Linked DNA regions of Homo sapiens: all the other regions are linked to region 2. The links are contacts of gene promoters, found by promoter capture Hi-C in blood cells and fetal thymus (Javierre and others, 2016). All regions are on one chromosome and are shown on one strand. The core of a region is centred on a gene start or on the middle of the fragment in contact, and the rest is flanking DNA. Distances in the headings are between cores, read along the strand shown. Region 1 overlaps TSEN2 (tRNA splicing endonuclease subunit 2). Region 2 holds the start of RAD18 (RAD18 E3 ubiquitin protein ligase). Region 3 holds the start of SETMAR (SET and mariner transposase domain methyltransferase).

What was found. Contacts are between HindIII fragments. The CHiCAGO score rates a contact against its expected background, and 5 or more counts as called.
Region 1: a fragment that was not itself captured here is called in contact with the fragment with the promoter of RAD18 in region 2 in 1 of 17 cell types (total B cells); the score reaches 6.2 in total B cells.
Region 3: the fragment with the promoter of SETMAR here is called in contact with the fragment with the promoter of RAD18 in region 2 in 1 of 17 cell types (total CD4 T cells); the score reaches 6.7 in total CD4 T cells.

What each region holds. Positions count from the first base shown.
Region 1 is chr3:12,484,813-12,489,366 of GRCh38, reverse strand. TSEN2 (tRNA splicing endonuclease subunit 2) reads right to left here. Exons shown (of 12, transcript NM_025265.4): 1 at 4,487-4,554. Among named protein-coding and RNA genes, the nearest start is that of TSEN2, 2.6 kb to the right of the region's middle. RefSeq lists an enhancer at 4,544-4,554. The HindIII fragment of the contact is 809 bases long and covers 2,900-3,708 here.
Region 2 is chr3:8,960,656-8,964,806 of GRCh38, reverse strand. RAD18 (RAD18 E3 ubiquitin protein ligase) reads left to right here and starts at 1,335. Exons shown (of 13, transcript NM_020165.4): 1 at 1,335-1,472. The coding sequence starts at 1,422. RefSeq lists an enhancer at 1,318-1,487. The HindIII fragment of the contact is 5,728 bases long and covers 1-1,795 here.
Region 3 is chr3:4,300,990-4,305,527 of GRCh38, reverse strand. It overlaps SETMAR (SET and mariner transposase domain methyltransferase), which reads right to left and starts at 2,159. Exons shown (of 3, transcript NM_006515.4): 1 at 2,002-2,159. The coding sequence starts at 2,157. It also overlaps a transcript of SUMF1 not described here. RefSeq lists enhancers at 1,722-1,791, 1,820-2,562 and a silencer at 1,882-2,221. The HindIII fragment of the contact is 4,274 bases long and covers 1-3,374 here.

The DNA of each region.
Region 1 (4,554 bases), core at 2,055-4,554, 3.5 Mb before region 2:
AAACTGAGACCCTGTCCTCAACAAATTAAATCTTGCAGGCACTTCATTTTCCAAGAGGATCTTACAATACACACTAAACATTGGGTCAATCAGCTCCCAATTTTTAAAGTACATTAATAAATAATAATGACAGCAGCAGTTATTTAAGGGTCGATTATATACTACCAAATGCTACTGGCTTCAAGCAGGGACTCTAAAGCCAGACTATCAGCATCAGAATCAACTTTACCACTTCCTAGCAGTGTGATTTTGGGCAAAAGTCACTGACTCTCTCTGTGATTTAGTTTCCTCACCTGCAAAATCAAGATAAGAACGACTCTATCTTACAGTTAAGATCCATAAAGTGCTTAGAACAGTACCTGGCACATAGCGTGTACCATTCATGTATCAGCTATAATTAGTATTACAGGGTGAGCAGTAGCAACACCATTTTACAAATAGGAAACAGATTCAGGTTAGAGAGATTTGTAGACGACCCCGAGTGTGGTGGCATCGGGTGACCCAGGTCTGTTGAACTCCCAAGCCCATGCCCTCTCTCTAGATTCTGCTGAAAGCACAGGCAGGGTCTATCTACTTTTGTCTGATGACTCTTTCTCAAAATCAGACGGTGAAGGGTTATTGAGCAGTAACGGAATTACCCACTGTGCACCCAGCACCATGAGGGAGAACAGAAAGCCAAAGCCAGTACGTGTCCCTCTGGGGCCATACATTGGATCCAAGGAGACAAAACAAGTATATAACATAGCTGGAAGCACAGAAAGCAGGTTGGAGCTAACGGAACTGGCTGTTATCCACTAATGTCTAAAGGAGGGAAGTAAATGTGAACATATTGTGTGATGCAGACACAGAGATACAGTAGATGCACTTAACCTAGGAAAACGTAACCATATACATGGGAAAACAATGTAAATGGTGCAAGACATTCCACTCGAGGAGCAGCTGTCCTGGAATGAGATGGGAAACTTGAATCTGCTGCTCCCCCAGTACTAGGTCTAGACTTGATTTCAACTGAGAGCTTACCTGGTGCTTGAAGATACAGTGCGGCCAAATCATACACACGTTTAACCTACATGACTCCGAATCCTCACAAGGGAAAAAATAAGACTAATTACTTAGGTGGCTCCTGCACTCAGTACTTGCATCCCATTGGCAAGGGATGCCATCAAGCCTGAAACAGTCAAGAAGGTGGCCAAAACTGAGGGAGGGGAAGGTGAGTGGCTTTAAGAGTGTCATGACCATTAAGAAAAGGCTTATCCAACGTGTGATGATATCAGTATCCAACTTCTCAAGGAAGAAGCTGAGGAATTATATGAGGACACAGAAAAACACAGACTAAAGAGGAGTTAGAGGAAATGATACATCAATTACAAAGATAACCATGAAAAAGAAGAATCGGGAAGTTGGAACCTTCCTAGAATTGCCATTGTTCTAAGCAGCAACATGCTAGATTAATTTCTAAATAAGGTTCCTTGAAGGAATTACATACTGAGCATTACTTTGTACATTTTATATTTATGCATGCATCTTGCTGTATAGTGTTTATAACAAAACCACGTCTACTGCATGCTCACAGGAAACCTAAGAGATTTTCTTAAGAGCATATTTAGACTAGGCTTTACCTTGCTTGCTGACTTATCCCTCAGCCCAAGTACTAAATTATCACATTTAGTACTCAATTGGAGAGACAATAATTTATTCTAAAACTGAAAATAAACACTGCTTTTTGGGGGCAGGATGTTGGTCTCTAGTAAGGCACTTTTTGAAAGACTTCCAGGAATGGTTTGGACTTTTATGGGATTTTTCACTTTTATAACCTCTGCTCAGCAGCTGACTTATATACATTACATTCGGAATTTTAAAAAAATGAAAAAAGATTTAATGGCCACCTTCAAGAAGTTCTAATAAATTCTCTCAACAAATAAGAGTTGTATTTTAGTCTGCCTCATTTGTTCAGCGTTTTTCCCTCTCAGACTGCTGTCACATCTAAAAAAGGCAAGATTTAGCTGTGACACTTGATCGAAAGAACTCTGTACTCCAACCCAGGTGTGTGGGATGGAAGGGTCCCTGCGACAAAACACCCCTCATAATCCAAGTTCTTGTGTTACTCTTGCTCATGTGGCTGCACACCCCTCAGGAATTTGGCTCGCAGTAGGCCTTCCAGACATGCAAAGCCGCCATTATTATTGTGTGACCTTGCACAACCCACTTTCTCTAAGCCCAGTTTCATCTTCAAATCGAACAGGACTGGAGGAGTCTGGCAGTTCCTCAAAATGTCAAACACATAGTTACGACATGATCCAGCAACTCCACCCCTAGGTATAGACCTAAGAGAAATGAAAACATATGTTCATGGAAAAATTTGTATGTGAATGTTCACAACAGTATTATTCATAATAGCATCAAAGTGGAAGCCATCCAAATGTCCATCAATAGTTGACCAGATCAACAAAATGTGGTCTATCCATATAATCAAATACTTAGCCATAGAAAAGGAATGAAGTTCGGATACATTCTTCAACACCTGAAAGCATTATGCTAAAAGAAGTCAGACACAAAAGACCACGAGACAATTAAGATAAAGTTTCCGGAATAGACAAATCCATAGAGACAGATTACCAGTTGCCAGAGACAGGGAAAAGTGGGAAATGGGGGGGCGACTGCTAATAAGACAGGAGGTTTATTTTGGAGGGTGACGAAAATGTTTTAAAATTAGATTGTAGTGATGGTAATGGTTACATAACTCCGCGAATACGAAGACCACTGACTCGTACATTTCAGAAGGGTGACTTTTACAGAATTATATGGTATCTCAATAAAGCTATTTTAAAAAATTCAGAAGTAAAGACATTCCCCAGGCCATGTCCTGCAAGAATGACTTCACAGATACCAGCGTGAAGCTTCTAGAAAAGATAGAAAGAAACCCTCAGGGAAGGTAGAGCTCACTTCCCCAGGGGGAAAAATTCAAGAGGACAAATCAGATGATCTCTAGTTTCATGGAAGAGTCCTCCTGTGCTGAACTCGAAAGGCAAAGCAGAGGAGAAAAGACTGCATTTACCATTCCCCATATCTGCAATGGATATTCAAGAAGGTTCTTTAGTGTCGCGGCAGAACAGCATGCTGTAAGAGGTGGGATGTGAGTAAAATAAGAAGAGGAAACTGTCATAGGTAGGTACCAGATGCCAGAGGCACTCACTGCATGTGCTGCACATGTGGGTACTATAGTCATCCCTTGGTATCCACAGAAGGACTGGTTCCAGGACTCACCCCCTACCAAAATCCGCAGCTCAAGTCCCTTAAATAAAATGTAGTATTTGCATGTAACTTATGCCCATCCTCCCATCTACTTTAAGTCTTCTCTAGATTACTTAGAATACCTAATACAATGTAAATACTAAATAATTGTTATATATATATATTTTTAAATTTCTTTTTCCAAATATTTTTGATGCAACATTGGTTGAATCCACAGATTCGGAACCTGATAGCGAGAGCTGACTGTACTATCCTCATTCCACAGATATGAAAGAAGAGCGGTGCCTGAGGTGCACAAAAACATATAGGAAAGACTGGGTCAGTTGTCAAGAGGTTTGGGATGCAAAGGTTGGTTTGGAATTGGAGTCACTGCAGGTTATTTAGAATGATGATTGAAAAATGCAGATTAAGAAAATTAAACCTGGGAGTGGTACATCACACAGTGGCCCTCAAGCTTACCTACCCTTAACTCCTCATGCCCAGGCCTCACCTGCAATCAATTACATCAGAATTTCCTGGGTGGACCCAGCTGATTTTAACATATAGCTAACCACTGGTAACAGCAAGGTCTATTCAAATTCACTTAATCCCAGTAGCCCCCGGAGGTAAAGACTATTTTTATTTCCATTGTACAGATGTGGAAAGTGACTCGGAGGGGCCGGGCGCACCCCTGAGAAATCTTTACTTCTTATTTCCCCAACCTGCGCAACCTGACTCCAGAGCTGCATATTCTTACTTTCTATTAAAAGCAGAGTCTGTTTCTTATTCTTCCCTCGAGCACACAGGCTAACACCTCTTAGGTGATGGTAAATGTCTATTAGAAAAACAAAAAAGGGAGAGGTGGCTCCATTTAATTTTCCAACCTTCCTGGACTAGGTGCCAAACAAACCTGGTTAAAAAACCTCCTACCCAGCAAATCTCACCTTCTCCCAACCAAAACACGCTTCAAGCTCCATCTGCGCACCTCCTGGGCTTAGGGAGGCAAGGATGAAAGGCACAAGGTAAACAATCCTGCCTCTGGGGAGCTTTCAAGTTAGAACCTGAGAATAAGCCATATAAACAGATGACCAGCCTTTGAAAGTTGTTGTCAGGATTAAATGCATAATTTTGCAGAAGGCGTTTCGTTCGGGGCCTACCACGTGGAAAGCGCTCACCAGACGACAGCTGCAAATAAAATAAACTGCGCACCCCAACAGCGTTAGGGGCCCCGCCAATTCCTAACTCCCTGTCTTACCCCTTTGCTTCTTTCCTTGACTACCCCCACACCCGACCGAACTCCACCAGAGGCTGCGGCTCCTCTCG
Region 2 (4,151 bases), core at 86-2,585:
CTCTTCCTCTCTCACCTTCCCAGCCATTTGTCACCTTAAACCTAATTACCTTGTCCAACTAGTAGTGTGAAAAAAACAATTACTGGTTCACTCAGGCCACGGACCTGGTCTTAAATGCTTTTCCTTTGTCTCTCCAAGACCCCACTTCCTCCACATCCAGAACTATCCGACATTTTCCAGCTCAGCCTGGCATTCATTTGCGTTCATTTGCATGCCGTTCTATGATTGGCTGATACAAAGTGGGGGGCGGGGGTGGACACCGTAAACCTCCATTCCTCATGCATTTAATATAACATGTATGAAAAAAAGTATCTATATTTATATCTCGTTTAAGAAAAAAATTGTTCAATGATACTTGTTAAAGCACAATAAGGAAGACTTAATCAGGACAATTCAAGTAGGTATAGAGACCACTGGAACTGTGTCTTGCAATTGGTGAAAACTGGGCTCAACTCTGAATACAACATGGGCAAATGGAAATTTATAGCCAGGAAGCAGGGTGGGGAGCAGTGCATGAAAAATTACTAAGAGGAAACATCAGAGGTAACAGTAGATTCTTGCTGAAGAGGCCAGGGTGATCAGACATCAACTGGGGGATGGTGGAGGATGAGGAACACATCAGATATCAAGAGTGATCACATATCAAAGGTGGGGATTCTTGGTAACTTGATTTAGCAGGGTTTTTTGCTAAAACTGGATTTTTACAGGAAGTACACAGATTGGCCTAGGAGAAGGTTCAGGAGCCTGACTAAAGTTTGCTCAAGCAAAGAATCTTCGTCAATCTGCATAGGAAATATCTAGAAGGCTATATGCCAAAGTTAATGGTGCTTCTCTCCGAAGAAAAAGAAAAACCGTGCATTAAAATTTTAATATGAATAAAAGCAACAGCTCCCATTTAAAGCCCAGAGGTCCTGTTTGGAATCTGACTCGAAACTCTATCCACTTTTTCGGGCGTAGGCTTCTCTTGTGTAAACTGACAATGATAACATCTACCTCCCAGTGTTGTGATACGGGAGACATAAAGTAATGGATATAAAAACTTCTGTTCAGAGCAAGGACGGATAGTCACTGCGATTAGGGTGGGCGACCCGGAGGGGGGTCATGAGCCTGGACCTTGACAGATCTGGTGAGGTCTGGATTTGGTTTGATTCCTGGCTATCTTTTCTTAATATTCAACTGGCTCTACGCTTTTTAACCATTCACTTTCTTCAAGGTAAGTGCGGCAGAAGCCTGGCGCATGCGCAGTACAAGCCCTTAAGCGGCGCCCCGCCCACATACTACTACAACTTCCGGCAGGCTCCGCGCCCGCCTCTGGCGCGTCGCGGGCTGCTGACGTAATGCGGTAGCGCGGGGAATTTCGAGTGGTGTTGGAGCGCCGGAGGCTAGTGGGTGGCTGACCCCCAGCATCCTCGGGAGCGACCATGGACTCCCTGGCCGAGTCTCGGTGGCCTCCGGGCCTGGCAGTCATGAAGGTGAGTGCTTCGGGGAGTTTGGGAGCTCCCGGGTGTCTGCGGGGGGAGGTCCCTCCCTTTGAGGAGGATGTCCTCGCCTTAAGGAGAAAGGATGAGGCGCGAGCGTCGCACTGGGCCCGGGTATCCGGCTCTGCCCTGCCACTAGCCGACCGCGTGGCTCTGGGTCTCAGTTTACTCCTCTGATAAGTGACAAGGACAAGCCTGGTGAGCTGAGGTTGGCAGTCTTATGGCACCAGCTATTCTGCGATCCAATCCCAACAATAACATGGAGAAAAACAGTTATTCCAAACAATGACATCGACAGCTGTTCTTTACTGAAAGCTTACTTTGTGTCAAGCACTAAACAGTGACACCGGACATGATTTTGGGTGGACACTTTATCAGATAACATGTATGTAATCACGTAGCCAAGCAGGTAGTCTCCTTTACAGGCTCTTTCATTTCTTCTGATTATTCTCAATAAACGTAGTGCTCGTTTGTTCTGACATACTGCCCCAACTCCTCTCTAACACACCTTCACTCTTCTCTAACAATTGCTCATGTCTCTTAAACAGAGATCAGGACTCAGGCTCAGCGCTGATCTTGCATTGCGTCTGATTATTTCACTTAAATAACATTTATTTTTGTGGCCACTTTCTGTTTTGGCAAGGCATACCAGTTTCCATTTACAGTAGTGGTGGGCCCTGGATTTGCTCAAGAGCAGATGCACTTTGCTGTGCTGGATAAAGATCAGTTGCTTGGTGTTTCTTCTTGCTCTGTGATTATTTCCGTTTCTCACAGTGGCTAAGATAGCCTTCTTCTCCCTCAGTTTTGTAGACTTGGGGATTATAATACCTGTCCCACTGACTCATAAATTTGACTTTAGAATTAAGTGAAGGCTAAAGTAAGTAGAAGGCCTTGTTCTTCCTGCTGTCATCAGTGACGTCTAGAGTGCTTGGGGACTTGAGATATCTGCATGATGAGAAGCTGACATTGTGAAATGATCCAGGAAAGCTGTAGTTTTGGAGTTGTGGGCTTGGCACCAGGATGCAGTGGAGAAGAGCACAGATTTGAGTTCCAGTGGTCCTGGGTGAAATCTCCTGTCTGCCTCTTGACTGTATGACCTTCGGTTAGTAACTTAACCTCTCTGAGCCTGAATTTCTTCAACTATAAATTAGAGACAAAAATAACAGTTCATAGGATTGATTAAATAAATTAGTTGATGTATGTGGGCACAGATTCTGCTGTGTATTCACTGTGCTTACTGCAGTGCCTGACACCAAGTGGGTGCTCAAATATTATTTGCTGCTTGATTGAAAGTATCTGGAATGTAGTAAGCATTCAATGAATATATTTTATTATTATTAGCACTGTGTTAAGTGCTTCTTTCCCCTTTTAATTTGTTGTCATGAAGCTTGACTTGGATAAGGAAAGTAAAAGAGCTCTGTAACCTGTAAAGCTCCTGCTTTGTAGATTTAAGCACACTTTACATATTCCCACAATTTCAGTGTTCTTTAGAGGCGGGTTCCATGTCTTCTCTGACTTTGGTATCTCACCACAGCACTGAATGTAGAGTTTGGCACCACAGAGCGTTCAGTGAGTGTTCAACCAGAGAGTTGATTGAGCCCGTATTTTTTTGCTCACATTGGAATCATGGAATCTTAAGGTTAGAAAACCAGCCCCTTTCAGTATTTTAATCTCCTTTATAACACATCTGCCAATTTCTCACCTAATTTTTGCTTGAACTCTTCCAGGCACAAAGAACTATCAGATCCCAGAAGCAGATCTGACTGAAGTTACTTCTTTTATTGAATAGAAGTCTGACTCAGAATCCATGGTTGCTAACTTAGGATTCACAGAAAGACTTTGGAGTCTCAAGTTATTTGTAAAATTTTTGCATGTATGTTTTTCTGAGCAGAGAGTCCATAGTTGTCATCCATTTTTCAAAGGGATCTGTAACCCCAAAAACTTAAGAGTATTTTTGTAATTATTACGTTTTTCCACCCATTTTCTACTTCTCCCTTTCACTTTCTCTCTCTCTAAACTAAAGAAATTTTGGGGAGTCTGCTGACCACTCTCTATTCAGGCATCATTTTTTGTTTAGTTGGTTGAGGCGCATGTGATATGCATGTTACTGTCTTGGAGTGACATGACAAGAAATTTGAACCAGAAATGGCTCATCTGATGTAGTGTCAACTTCCACAATTGTGCTCTGCAGATCTTTCAGAATCATTCCTCCACCAGAAGAGGATGGCATAGATAAGAAAGTGTGATATAATAGACTGGTTCTGGCTTCTGGGCCTGCCTCTGCTCTTAATTGATCTTGAACATAACCCTTTAGATTTTTGTGTCTGTGACAGCTTACCATCCACAATAATGGAAGATTTTGGCATTTTATTATTTCCCTGGTTTTACTTTAACAAAAATTTACTGTTTTTGGCATATTGTAAATGTAATATGTGTACACGGTAGAAAAAAATTAAAATTCAGAATAAGATAAAGGAGAAAAATAAAACCATCCATAATTCTACCACCCAGAGAACCAGTGTTTAACATTTTACCTTATTTTCCTTTGGTTTTTGTGCATTTAAAATTTGGGATCACTGTGGAGTCAACTTCTTGGGTTTGATCCAGCCAACTTAGGAACTCTGTAGACTTTATTTTTAAAATTGGGATACTGATGCTGTGGACTTCATAAGA
Region 3 (4,538 bases), core at 910-3,409, 4.7 Mb after region 2:
TTTTTCTTTCTTTCCACAACAAGGAGATAATCAACTAAGACCGAGGCACCTTTTTAAGTTAGATAAGAAACATTTTACAACCTGCTCCCTCTGAAGTCAGCTGGGAGTCTCCTCCCCACAATTAAAACTTGGGTCTCTACATGGCCGGGTGCGGTGGCTCACGTCTGTAATCCCAGCACTTTGGGAGGCCCAGGTGGGTGGATCACTTGAGGTCAGGAGTTTGAGACCAGCCTGGGCAACATGGTAAAACCCTGTCTCTACTAAAAATACAAAAATCAGCTGGGCGTGGTTGTAGGCGCCTGTAATTCCAGCTACTCGGGAAGCTGAGGTGGAAGAATCGCTTGAACCTGGGAGGCGGAGGTTGCAGTGAGCTGATCGCACCACCACACTCTAGCCTGGGTGATGGAGTCAAGCTCCGTCTCAAAAAAAAACCCTTTATCTTAACCTAAACATTTCTATTGATCCCAGGTCTTCAGACAAACTCAACCAATTGTTAACCAGAAAAATTGTTAACCAGAAAAATTAAAATCTACCTATAGTCTGGAAGCCCCCCCCACCACTTTGAGTTGCCCCGCCTTCTGAACCAAACCCATGTACATGTTAAATGTATTTGATTGACGTCTCCTCTCTCCCAAACATGTATAAAACCAGGCTGTGCCCTAACCACCTGGGACACATGTTCTCAGCATCTCCTGAGGGCTGTGTCACAGGCCATGGTCACTCATATTTGGCTCAGAATAAATCTCTTCAAATATTTTAGAGTTTGATTCTTTTCCTTGACATCTTTGAAAGCTGCTATTGAATCTCTTATCTTATCTGATCCTCACAAAAACCCCTAGGAAAAAGAAAGGGCAGATAGGGTTCATTGTTGATAATGGATGTTAAAGGGGCTATGCATTTTTAAATTATTATTTTCATTTTGCAGATGAAGAAACTCAGGCTCTGGGAAGTAGCTAAGATGTCTAAGCTCCGAACCATACTCTCCAACTTCCACGTCCAGCGCTCTTTCCACTTCAAAATCTTTGGTCATTCCTTATTCCTTGGGTAACGCTCAGGCCAAGGTCGGAGGGATAAGAAAGTCAGTAGAGGCTGGGAGCGTGGCTCATGCCTGTAATCCCAGCATTTTGGGAGGCCGAGGCGGGCGGATCACCTGAGGTTGGGAGTTCGAGACCAGCCTGACCAACATGGAGAAACCCTGTCTCTACTAAAAATACAAAAATTAGCCGGGCGTGGTGGCCCATGCCTGTAATCCCAGCTACTCGGGAGGCTGAGGCAGGAGAATCGCTTGAACCCGGGAGGTGGAGGTTGCGGTGGGCCGAGATCGCGCCAGTGCACTCCAGCCTGGGCGACAGAGCGAGACTCAGTCTCAAAAAGAAAAAGGAGAGTAGAAAGGGCTTTGAGGTAGTTAATAGAAGCAAACATTTACTGAGTTCTTACAGCAAACCGGAAAGTGTATTTTCCTTGCCATTTTCAAAGCACTCCGGAAGAGAGGTACTGTTCCACTGTACGCTGGAAGACTCTAAGGCTGAGCCACAGCTAATTTACACTCGCCCAAGAGCCCACAGCGTGAGGGAGACCACAGCTAAGGCTGACTCGAGGGGCTGTTTTTATGCACGACACCGGCTGCGATCCATTAATAGGCCCCACGGCTTATCCTACCTGTGAGAGACACCTGAGACCAGGGAGGTAAATGACTCCCCCCGTGATGCCTCCTTGAGTTCTGAGGACAGGACTGGACAAAAAGCCAGGTTCTCACAAGGCCTCCGGTTCTGCGCTTCAGGGAATGGACTGAAAAGGACAACACCCTTGCTAAGGTGATGCCGTGGGTCAACAGAAAAAGGCCCAGGCCGGGGCATGCACACCTATTCCCGCGCACCAACGGGTGCGCTGTAAGAGAAGACAAAAGGTCGCGACTGGGAGGCCGTCCCAGCGAGGCGGCTTGAGGAGACCACGTGGGGGAGCCGCGCGCCCGCCTCCCGCGCCGCCTGGCCCCGCCCCTACCTGGAAGGGCGCCGGCGCGGCCCCCGGGGGCCACGCGCCCACCGGCAAGTTTTCCTGGCCGCACGCGACATCCAGCTGCTCAGTCGGGGCCTCAGGCTTCTCCTTAAACTCCGCCATCCCACAAGGCCGTGTCGTCTTTGCCGCTTCCGCGAACATTTACCCGCCTCACGCAACGCCCACTACCCTGACAGTCCTGGGCCGCGCGGTGGATGCTGGGACTTGTGGTCCCGTGGCCCCACCGCCTCATGGGAATTGTAGTTCGTTTCTTCTCAGGAGTGGCCTGGAAGGCGCTTCCCTTCCTTGACTTTTTGGGTCTGGCTCCCGTTTTGATTTCAGCCAGAGGCACCACAGATAATTACAAAACCATGTAAGGTACGGACGAAACAAAGTGAGGTGCTTTAGTTTTTCCTGGGAGCATCAGAGAGGGGGCTTTCGAGGTGAGGTCATTTGTCCAGGTTTTTGAGGGCTCACTGCACGTTTGTGGAGTGGAGGCAGGGGTGCGTTCTAAACCGAGCGGGGAAACGCACACCAAGGTTTCTAAAGGTCTGCGGCTTGCCGGGAAGTTGACTGACATGTGATAGGGTTTGTGCCAAGGCGATAGCCTCACAGGGTGCCTTAAGGAATTTGTGTGGGGGCATGCTCACTCCCTGATGGAGGTATCCGTGCCCCTTTGCCTGTCCTTTTCCCTCCTCTCCATCCCTCTACCCTCACCCCTCCAAACCCCTGCCCTGCCAAAGGATTCTGATAGCCTCAAGACTGCTGAATCCGGTGGAGCATTTTCAACCTCACTGAAGCTCTCTGACATGATTGTCCTGCTTCTCCTTGAAACTGTAAACCAAAAATAAAATTCCAATCCTCCAAACCATCTGAAGGGACCCCTCCTCTCTGCCAAGGTTAACCTGAGAAAGTGGTTCAGGCCATGATGGGAAGGGGGGTCCAACATGCCTCATTATGCCCTTCTTCCTTTTGGAATTCAGGAAAAGCCAGCCAGCATCAACATCAACACACACCTTAAGTCTGATAAGAAACATTTACAATCTGTTCTCTGAAATTTACCTCTTGGAGGCTTCATCTCCACGATCAAATTTGGTATCCACAACCTCTTATTGCAACCCAGACATTCGTTTCTATTGATTTTAGGTCTTTAGATAATAACCAGTTGCCAATCAGAAAATCTTTAAATCTACCTATGACCTGGAAGCCACCCCTCACCCGCTTCTCGTTGTCTGCCTTTCCAGATCCAACCAATCTTACATGTATTGATTGATGTATTATGTCTCCCTAAAATGTGTGAGAGTAAGCTGTATCCCAACCACCTTGGGCACATGTCATCAGGACTGCCTGAGGCTATGTTGGGGGCGCATTCTTAAGCTTGGGAAAATAAACTTTCTAAATTGAGACCTGTCTCAGATAATTTTGGGTTCACAAACCCTTCTGACCTTGCAGCTTCTGAGGTCCCATTGGCCTAAATGTGTTTCCATCTTGCAGACCTTTCCTTGTTAGTATCCTCTTGTTGTTTTCCTGCCTGACTGTTTCTGAAAAGTGGGTGTGATTCAGGGTTCTGCCCTTGACCTTTTTCTTTGCTCCCCTTCCCTGAACTTTCTCATTAATAACATCCACTCCCATGGCTTCAAATATAAAGGATTAGGTCACCAGTCTCCAACCCAGATCAGACGTTTCTCCTCAAATCCAGTTACGCATATTCAGCTAATGATTGAGCATTTCTGTTTTCTGTCCTACAGGCTCCTCAAACTCAAAATAATCTGAATTGACTTCTTCTGCCAGTCTTGCTTTTTCTTCTTTAAAGTTAACTGGGAAAATAATTTGTGATCTACAGAGCCACTAAAGCAACAAACCAGTTACTCTGTATTCCTTCACTTCACTAGACTCATATAGCTAAGGACGTGGTGGGTAAGTCTTGTTGATTCTGCCTTCATGTTCTCATTTTTGCCTCTTCTCACTTAGTCCTAGGCTCTCTCATTTCTTGCTTGGACTTTGGAAGTTCTTTGCTTTAAGTCTGTCATTCTCCATATCCCCAAATCACCCTTACTGCCGCTGCTACAATGACCTTTGAAGATCCTTGTCCAGTTATTATATTTTGCTGCTTAGATTCTTATTTGCTCCATTTTCTCTCAAAGTTTACCTTCTATATTCTGTCTTATGAGCCTTTGAGGACCCAGACTTTACCTATTTCCTTGGTCTCTTTTGCTGCTGTTCTCTGTTGGAACCCCTTGTTCTGTTGACATTCCCTCAAAAAGCCATTCTACTTGGGCCTCTGGGCCTTTGTCCACATTGTTCTTGTATCTCCAGTGCCTTTACCCAGGACTGTCTGTCTGCTCAGCTCAAGTAGTCCCTTCTCTGTATCTTTCTTTACCCTGTTTCCCTTAGCATTGGTTACCCTCTTTACATTAGTTCTCCTACTTTATAAGCCATTTCTTATGTTCCCTGCAACTATTTAATGTAAGCACAGGCAAAACCATCTTATTGAACTCATAAAAATTATATATATATATATTGGTGGAGGGTGGGGAGATAGA